Regions from separate parts of the Homo sapiens genome. Here region 2 is linked to region 1. Evidence: promoter capture Hi-C in human tissues and cell types (Jung and others, 2019). All regions are on one chromosome and are shown on one strand. The core of a region is centred on a gene start or on the middle of the fragment in contact, and the rest is flanking DNA. Distances in the headings are between cores, read along the strand shown.

Evidence for each region. Contacts are between HindIII fragments. The study calls those that stand out against the background at their distance.
Region 2: a contact is called between a fragment that was not itself captured here and the fragment with the promoter of ADAMTS15 in region 1, in 1 of the 25 tissues and cell types used here (IMR-90 fibroblasts).

The regions. Positions count from the first base shown.
Region 1 is chr11:130,445,751-130,450,641 of GRCh38, reverse strand. It overlaps ADAMTS15 (ADAM metallopeptidase with thrombospondin type 1 motif 15), which reads right to left and starts at 1,997. Exons shown (of 8, transcript NM_139055.4): 1 at 712-1,997. The coding sequence starts at 1,668. The HindIII fragment of the contact is 14,209 bases long and covers 1-4,891 here.
Region 2 is chr11:130,707,203-130,712,093 of GRCh38, reverse strand. All of the region lies in intron 1 of LINC02873 (long intergenic non-protein coding RNA 2873), which reads right to left. Among named protein-coding and RNA genes, the nearest start is that of LINC02873, 37 kb to the right of the region's middle. The HindIII fragment of the contact is 9,577 bases long and covers 1-4,891 here.

The sequences.
Region 1 (4,891 bases), core at 748-3,247:
TCAGCTCCAAACAGGTGCCCTAACTACACCGCCTGCTCAGAATGGTCTAGAAGCCTCTTGGACCATGCCCAGCAGAGAAGTCTGTAGGAGAAGCGGCAGTGAAGGAGGGATGCTCGCAGTACTTGAGTCTGGCCTGTCACTGCAACCCACAAAATCTCTCAATGATTCCCTCCACCCCAATCCAGGCTTTCCAGGCCCAGTACAGAGAGGGGACAACGTGTTACCCGAGAGAAATGTAGCAAGCGCTGACCTTGGATCACCTTCAGTTCTACAACCCTTGAAAGGAGACCTCAGGAGGTGTCCGAGAAGACTCAGCCGCCCATACAATAGGGGTGGGCCGTTCCCGCCCTCTCCAACACCATCCTCACGGCGTCTCCTATCGGTCTTGGACACAAACTGCAGCTCCGGGGCGGCAACTTCCTGGGTTCCGGCCCCTCGGCGCCTGATCCAGGAGGCGCTGATTGGCCGCGCCAGGCCAACACCTTCGGAAAGCGCAGGCTCTCCTCCAATGGCCCAGATGCACGTGAGCCGCCGCTCCGCGGAGCGTGGGAGAGGGCTCTCCCTGGAAACTCCACAGAGTTGGAGTCGGAAGAGATCAACGAGGTTTAAACTCGGAGGCATTGCACGATACAAAGGGGATTTGGAGCGCTAGGGGAGGTGACCCTAAAGAACGGGACTATCTGGGTGCAAAGTGACGGCAGATCAACTCACCTGCCTGGTGAAGAGGATGGCAGTGTCCCAGTACTCGGGGTGCTTGTCACTCACTTTGTTCAGCTTCTTCTGCCAGGCACAGAAGTTGCGCAGCGTCAGGGCCGCATTGCCGGTGACCTTGGGCCCGGAGTCACGATCTCTAAGAAGCAGCACCTTGACCACAACGATGTTGATGGGGTTGAGGATGCTGGGATGGCGGTAGAGTCGCGCCGCCGTTGCCAGCAGCGTCAGCAGATAATGTTCCAGGTCCGCGCCGTGGAACTTGACCATTGACTCGTCCGCGACCACCAGCGTCTCCACGTACCGCGGGATAGACACGAAACGCTTGGCGCGCCCAGACCTGCGCCGGCTACGACTCTCCCCGAAGCCCGCCCGCCGCGGCTTGTAAGGGTCCAGGGCCCGTAGGATGGCGGGGTTCCAGCCCGAGGCCACCCCGCAGCGAGAGGTGGGGTCTCCGGAAGGCCCGCCCGGAACACCCCGGCGCTGGAGAAGGTGTGCGCCCTGGCTGTTGCGCTGCGCCGCCGGCGCGCTAGCATTGGGCAGCGGGCTAATGACATACTCGGCGCCTCGGTAGCCAAAGGCTCCGCGGAGCCCCCCGCACAGGCTCACAGCAGCGAACGAGTCCGGCTCGGCGTTCACGTCCCCAGAATAGAAGCAGCGTCGCAGGTCTGAAGAGCCCCCGGTGAGCCCCTGGAGGGGGACGCCCAGATGCTCAGTGGAGAAGGCGGGAGCCAAGAACTGAGCATCCGGCGTCAGGTGTAGGTAAAAGTCCTCCTGAAATGCTGTGATCTGAAAAATGAGTCCCTGATCCCCGGAGTCCTCGGGACCCCGCCAGTAGTAGCGGCGGCCGTTAATGTCCGGGTCCAGTCGGATGGGAACGACTACCTCCCGCTCTGGCTCAGAGCCTCCAGCGGTTCGCCCGGCGAAAGCCAGGGTTAGGATGCCCAGCAGAAGCATGGCGCCGGGCAGCGCACCGCCGCGCTGTGGGAAGGGGCTGGGCCGGGCTCTCCGGCCGCTGCCGCGGTCTCCGTGCAGCCCGCACTCTGGAACCGCCAACGCTACGGGACAGCCGGCAGTTCCCAGAAAGGAGAGCCAAGGGAGGGAGACTCCTCCCAGGGCGGCGAGCGTGCACCCGGCAGCCCGCGCTTCCTACCTGTGCCTTTCCAAGCAAAGCGCGCCCTGGGAGCTTAAGTACAATCGCTGTCAAGTGCAAGGACGAAGATTTGCAGCCGAGAACTAGCGGAAGGTGCCGGGCGGCTTCTCGCAACCGCAGCCACTCGCAGCGCAGCAAGCCAGGCGCTGGGCGAGCCTATTAAAGGCCCCCTCCTCTTTGGACGGCCCAGTCAGCGCCCCTCCCCTCACTCCCCTCCCAGCCTCCCAGAGCTCGCTGCCGGAGCCTCCAGGGGCCACCGGAGAACTCGGTCCCGCCTCCAGAGCGGAGAGCCACTTGGCGGGGAGGGAGTGGCATTGAGCTGAGGCAGGAGGCGTGGGCTGGCCCGAGAAACCGGCGCTGAAGTCTCAGTTTGCGTTTTGCTCTTGGTTATGCCCCACTGTCCCGACGCCTCACTCGCTTCTGCCCCCGCGGACAGCGTTCACTCTCTGGGTCTTAGTCTTTTATCTCAGGGCAGATCAGGTCAGCAGCTAGGAATGAAGACCCTTCACTGACCCGTCCCCAGGCCCACCTCATCCCTGCTGTTGCAACATCCCTGCTGTTTCTTAATCACAGAGTCCCCTAAAAGACCCAGAATCAAGAACCACCCCCCCCCCCGCGTAAATGTCCTATTGCCAGAAGAGCAATAGGACAGGGGCATGGGAGCCCTCTGGAACCCAAGACCGCCTAGCCCCAAGGTCTGCCCTGGGCCCATGGTGTGCTGGATGGGCTGGGGCAAACTCTTCAGTTCTCAGGAATCTTGCCAGCCAGCTGTTAATCACGGACATTATTAAAAATTAAACTAAACACACTTACAATTAAACAAAGTGTATATATATATATGCACACACACACACATACATATATATACACATACATATATATATATACATACACACACACACACACACACACACATATATATATATATTTTTTTTTTTTTGAGACGGAGTTTTGCTCTTGTTGCCCAGGCTGGAGTGCAATGACGCGATCTCAGCTCACCGCAAACTCCGCCTTCCGGGTTCAAGCCATTCTCCTGTCTCAGCCTCCCAAGTAGCTGGAATTACAGGCATGCACCACCACGCCCAGCTAATTTTGTATTTTTAGTAAAGACAGGGTTTCTCCATGTTGGTCAGGCTGGTCTCGAACTACCGACCTCGGGTGATCCTCCTACCTTGGTTTCCTACCTCCTACCTTGGTCTCCTGAGTAACTGCGACCACAGACACACGACACCACGCTAGGCCAATTTGTGTGTGTGTGTGTGTGTGTGTGTGTGTGTGTGTGTGTGTGTGTGTATTTTTGGTAGAGACTGGGTTTCGCCGTGTTGCCCAGGCTGGTCTTGAACTCCTGAGCTCAAGCAATCCACCCACCTCGGCCTCCCGGTGCGGGGACTACAGGCGTGAGCCACCATGCCTAGCCACAAAGTACATTTTTAAAAGGTAATAAATACTCAAAACCCGTCGCTTCCTAAGTATTTGATAATTACTTATGGTCTTGAGCCACCAGAACCGCCAACCCTCTGAGACAGCAACTCCCAGAAAAGAGTGCAGAATGGGGTGGAAATGTGAGGGAAATATTAAATGGTGTGCTGCCCTGCATCTCCCCAGTCAGGGACATCACAATGGCTTGAAATAGGTCCTGGTAGAAGTATTTACACCACCTGAATAAGCAAATCAGAGCTGGGGTTGGGGGCAGGAAGATGAGCCCTTGTACACAGCTACCTGCCTGGCAGGGATGTGGAGATCAGGTTCTGGGGCTGCAGTTACAAGAGGAAGAGGCTGTCTTCCAGCAAACAGTAGAAAAATCGGGCCAGGCTTCCTCCATGAAATTATCTCATTTGACCCTTGACCAAACCCTGGACTGGGGACTGGCATAGGAGGCCGAGTGAGTATCAGCTGGAGAAGATGCAATCGCACCTTATGTTCCCATCTAGTTTGGAGAACAGCCCAAGGAGTTTTTCAGGCTCTAGACCTCAAGATCCTTCTTACCTCTCCGCAGAATCAACTTCTTTCTCTGACAAGGGAGAAAGGCAAGGAGAGGAGGGAGGCTTTGCTACTCTCTCCTGATACCTAGAAAATCTTTCTGGAGCCAAAGGGCTCTGAGTTGAGTTTGCAAGAGGGGAGGACAAAGAAGGGAGTGTGTGATGATTTTAAGCATAAAGGGGATGATGTGGGAGAATTTTGGAATTTTTTTTAGGGAAGTGGCTGTTCAAGGGAAGAACTCTATTGTCCAAGGAGAGAAAAGGCTGGGACTGGTCCATCAGTGAAGAGCACTTTTTGCCCATTATCTTCTCCCCATAAAGGATCCACTCTTGGAAGCGCCCCCTGGGGCCTTGGAACATGAAGATGGCTCAGATGCCCATAATTCCAGTGAGGCCTCTCCTTGATTGGGACACAAGGAGCTGAAATTCATTATGTGAATGAGTGAGAGATGGGTGTTTATACTCTGCAAATGAAAGAGAGTGTATGGGTATGGGAGGACTGTGTGTGAGACAGGGAGTTCAAGCTTACAAAGGCCCTGTGTGTTTGAGCGTTCAAAGAGGGCCTATAATTAAAGAGAAACGCAGACAACCAACAGCAATGATAAGTCATTTATTTGGGGCAAGCAATTGTTTTACTACACCCGGCAGTTTTAAAGGTGGATTGCAAGGTTTTCAACGGCACTTTACTTTCATTCTGACCCATGGGTTTTGGCAAGGGCTGCAGCATGTCAGTCAAGATGGCAGGGACCTGAGACAGGAAGTCCCTCCCACTTAGTGCTCCCCCTGCCCCAATCACAGCCCAGCTATTCTCACCCCTGAGCACAGAAACTGGCCATGTGGATTTGCTCAAAGGGATTAGCATGTATTGCAGGCTTAGTATGTGCTAAACATTGCACCAAGAGTTATATGTGCATTCTCGTATTTAATGCTTGACTGTCCCCTCTTGGAAGCCTGTGGTTCCATCCAATCACTTTTGCCAGGGAATTGAGGATCTAGGGATATGTTGAGCACTTGAGTAGAGGTGATACTCAGGATTGGCACTCCACTT
Region 2 (4,891 bases), core at 885-3,384, 260 kb before region 1:
GGAAGCAAAGCATCCTGGCTCTAGTCCAGCCGCAAGACTAAGATAAATGATTGGAGAAGTAGAAGCACTAAGTCTAAGCTCATATGAATTGGGTCAATATTTTTTTAAACCTTGCAATATTAAGTTATCTTAAAGAGTTCTACATAGATAATTTTCTAATGAGCTAGGAGTCAACTACAAGCTCAGGAAAATAGAGGTAACTTGATGCCAAGAGAATTGAGGCAAGGAGGTGTGAAGGAAGCCAAGAGGAGCAAGGAGGGGGAATTAAAGAACCTGCCCAAAGACAGGATGTGATCAAGCAGCAGTAAAGCCATCAAGGTCGAGCAACAGGAGAGCCAGTGACACCTGGCCAGGTAGAAGCACTCGAGGTGAGCTGGCTGTAGAGTCCAGGGGCATGAGAAACTTACACCATGTTGGGTATAAGTTATAGTGACAGAAGTCATTGCTGGCTAGAGTCCGGGCTTTTAACCATATGCATACAGCCCCAAAATGTCTCTCGCCTCCCCTGTGAGCTATCATTAGTCTCATTTTACATACGAAGGCTTGCCTTAGCCACACAGCCACTAAGTGGTAGAACCAAAATTCAGTCCCAAGCCACTTGACCCAGGGCCTGCAATGCCATTCTGCAAGATGTGAGCCCAGCCAACCTCACTCTTCCCTGCTGTGACAAATCAACAATCAGAGGTGGAGACTGGACCTCTATAGACCCGGAAGTCAGTGCAACGTGCCATTCTCCTGATCATATCATCTTCCACAGCTGGGGGCCTCAGGGGGCGGCAACCCTCATGAGGTCACCGAATCACTCACTCAGCCCTGTTTCTACTCTTGATATAGCAGAAAATTCCTCAGCATAGCTCTCCTGCTGAAACGTCTCTTTCCATCACCTTAAAATCATTCCTTTTACAGGGACTGAGCACCTAAGGCATCTCCAGAAGCAAACCAGAAGCACCAGTTGGTGCAGAGAGAGAAATTAGTTCCTTAACACCCACCCTACCTCCCCACTTGGTGTGGCATTTGGCCTTTAAGGGTTTTGAACCTTCCCACCTATTACAAAGTTTGCGCAGTGGAGAAGAACCAGGGAGGGAAGCGAGCATCCATCACATGTAATTGCATAACATCTCTGACAGAAGCCACTTTTGTCCTCATTCACTAATCCAAACACTCACGATGACCCATGGGCTCTGACATGCAAACAGCAACCTGACTCCATGCAGACTGATGGAATAGGAAGTCAGCCCGAACCGGGTATGCATGTGCAGCTGGATTTGCACATCGTTGTTTGTCTGTGTGTGAAGCTATGTGTGTATCCCTAAGAGACAGCTTGCAGATTCTCCAGCCCTGACTGCTTACTTGGTGCTTGAGAGAGTGGGACACAAGTATCTCATTCCGCTGAGTGTCAGGCAATGTGAAGCGTGATGTCTGGGGACCAATTCGGTTTGTTTGCATCTTTATTTCAACTGAAGCTCTTCCGTTCCCACACACCCCAGAGATGAGGTTCTCGAGCGTCCCGTGGGGCCTGCTGAAGCTATTTTCACAGTTGCTAAGCAATGCTAGGCCTGCTTCAAGCCTGGTGAGCTCACGGCTATGCTGTGGTGGTGTCTGCTGGTAATCTGGACTTAGCATTATAACAACTGAAAAGAGAAAGGAAAGGTGTGTGGGCAAACAGCACACATGAGAAGTGACAATGTGATGAAGGATGAGTTGATGTGGGACCTAGAGCCAGGAGAAGCAGTGAGCACAATAGGTACCATGTGTAGCAACTACTCTCTCCAGGTATGAGCCGGGCACCATGGCACACACGAGTTCATTTAACAGGAATGGCACAAAGGCAGGAGAGGCAGCCACATGAGAGCAGATGCTTGCCCTCTTGGTCACGGTTGTACGAGCTATGGGCTCACGCAGTGCCTGGCACATGGAAAGAACTGAGCAATTATCAATCAAGTAAATGAATCACAGTGTTTAAAAGCAGGAAAGAGCTGTAGCTGTCATCTAACCCAACTTTCTCATTTACTATATGAGAGAACCACTTGAAGAAACTCCCCAGATAAACCCTAAAGTCTATTCCTTGTACACACCTAACTCAAAAGGAGCCCACAAGAAGAACAGAAAAGTTGCAAAAAGAAGAGGGTGGTGGTGTTTCAACCCTGACCTTCCCAAGGCACAGGATCCGGGCATCCACTGGTGACCAGGAAGACAATATGGGAATCATGCCTGACTGCTAAGGCTTGCCAGGGCCTCCCGTCCCCACTGTTACCACCCCCTGCCCTGATACCTCAGGCCTGGGCTGCTGCCACAGGTCCTAGCCATTCACCCAGACTTCCTCCCTTGCTGTCTCTCTCCCAGATTGTTCTGATAACACAGCAGCACCAGTCCCTCTTCCAGCACACAGCCCTTCCCATTGACCTGTCTGGGCTCTGACCCAGCCCCACCAGCCGGCCCTTCTCTTCCTGCAGACTCCTTGCCACCACCCCATGTTCACCCAGCGTCATTCACCCAGAGCCCCAACACCTGCTGCCCTTGCCAGACCAGGCCTCCCTACGCTGTCCACACACAAGCTGATGCAGAGCTGTGTGTGAGCCTTTGACAAGCATCCCTAGGTCTTCCCTCTGCGGTCATGACTTCCCTGAAGACTCTGCTCCCCCAGGGAGCCATCCATTTACATTTTCCCCAGGCTGATCACTTTTGTCATTTGGATTTCTCAGGAAATTTTTTTAAATTGTGGTAAAAGAAATGTAACATAAAATTTGACATTTTTAACCATTTTAAGTGTACAGATTGGTGGCATTAAATATATATACATGGTTGAGCAAACATCGCCACCATCCACCTGCAGAACCATTTCATCCTCCCACACTGAACTCCATACCTATTAAACAACAGTTTTCCACTCTTCCTTTCCTCCAGCCCCGCATATAATGGAATCATGTAATGCTTGTTCAATTGTGCCTGGCTTATTTCACTTAGCGTAGTATCTTTAGGTTCATCCAGGAGGTAGCATGTATCAGAATCTCATTGTCATTTAAGGCTGAGTAATACCCCATGCATATGCCCACCACAGTTTGTTTATCCATTCATCCATCAATGGACATTTGGGTTGTTTCTGCCTTTTGCCTACTGTGAATAAAACACTGCTATGAACATTGATGTACAAATACCTGCTGGAGTTCCTGCTTTCAATCCTTTGGGCGTATGTTCAGAAGTAGATTTGCTGGATCATAGGATAATTCTGTTTAATTTTTTGAGGGCCTGCCATACTGTTTTCCATAGCACTGCACCATTTTGCATTCTGAGCAGCAATGCACAAGGGTTCTAATTTCTCCATATCCTTGCTAATACTTGTTTGTTTTGTTTTTATTTTTGATAATAGCTATTCTAATGACTTTGTGTAATTGTGGTTTTGACTTGCAATTCTCTAATGATGAGTGATGCTGAACATCTGTTGATGTGCTTATTAGCCATCTGTATAATCTTTGGAGAAACGTCTACTCAAATCCTTTGTCCGTTTTTTAATTGGGTTGTTTTTGTCATTGAGTTGTAAGAGTTTTTTTTTTAATATTTTATGGATATTAATCTCCTATCAGATATATGATTTGCCTATTTTCCTCTATTCCATGGGGGAAGAGTGTCTCTTCACGCTGTTGATCATGTTCTTTGATGCACAAAATTTATTGATTTTAATAAATCCAACTTACCTGTTTTTTTCTTTTGTTGACTATGCTTGTAGTTTCATACCTTTAAAGATCATTGCCATGTCCAATGTCACGAATCCTTTCCCCTATGTTCTCTTCTAAGAGTTTTCTATTTTTAGCTCTTAAATTTAGGTCTTTGATCTATTTTGAATTAATTCATGTATATGGTGTTAGGTAAGGGTCCAACTTAATTATTTTGCATGTATCCAGTGTTCCCGATATTATTTGTTGAGAAGACTTTTCTTTCCTCATTGATGGTTTTGGTACCCTTGTTTAATGTCACCTGATCATATATGCAAAAATTTATTTCTGAGCTCTCTATTCTATTCCACTGGTATAGATGTCCATCTTTGTGCCACTTTCAATCTGTTTTGATTCCTATAGCTTTGTAGAAAGTTTTAAAATCAGAAGAATAAGTCCTCCAACTTTATTCTTATTTTTCAAGATTATTTTGGCTATTTGGGGTCCCTTGAGATTCCTTATGAATTTTAGGGTAGATTTTTCCATTTGTGCGGAAAACATCATTGGTATTTTGAGAGGAATTGCACTAAATCTGTGAATCCTTTGGGGTAGTGCCTGGGAAGTTTTGAAAACCTTTTCCTGTAGCTATTGCGTTTATGTATGAATGCCTTCTTTATCCATCTAGATGGTAAACTTCTGATCATAGGAACGGTGTCCTCTGTCTTTCCCGTCTTTCACTGCACAACACCAAAGGCACTAAGTCATAAACAAAATGAAGAATGATTATTCCTCTAACTAAATTTTTTCAAATGGGAAAAACTAGCAACTATCTACTACTACCCATAAAATCTTCTAGCTTTGGATTTCTTCAAGCTTTCTAGTGAATGACTTAGAACTGATAAAGAAAACAAGAGGGATCACCAATCCCTGCCATATCTGGAAGGCACCGACTCCCTTCGTGGAGCACTACTTACAGCTGATTCCATGACTGCTGGCCACACCAGGGAAGCCAACACCTCTTCCTTCCCTGATAATTCCAGTCAGTGCTGCAGTTTGGACTTGACTGTTCATAAGAAACCCAAACAGAAGGTAATTCCTAGACTGGTGGAGCCTTTGCTGATACAACAATTAGCACACTGTGGGGGTGGCTGTAATTGTTGTATTTATCTACCGTTTATTTGGAGCTTGCTGTATATCAAGGGCTGAGTAATAAGTGGGCTTTCCACGCATCATCTCAATGC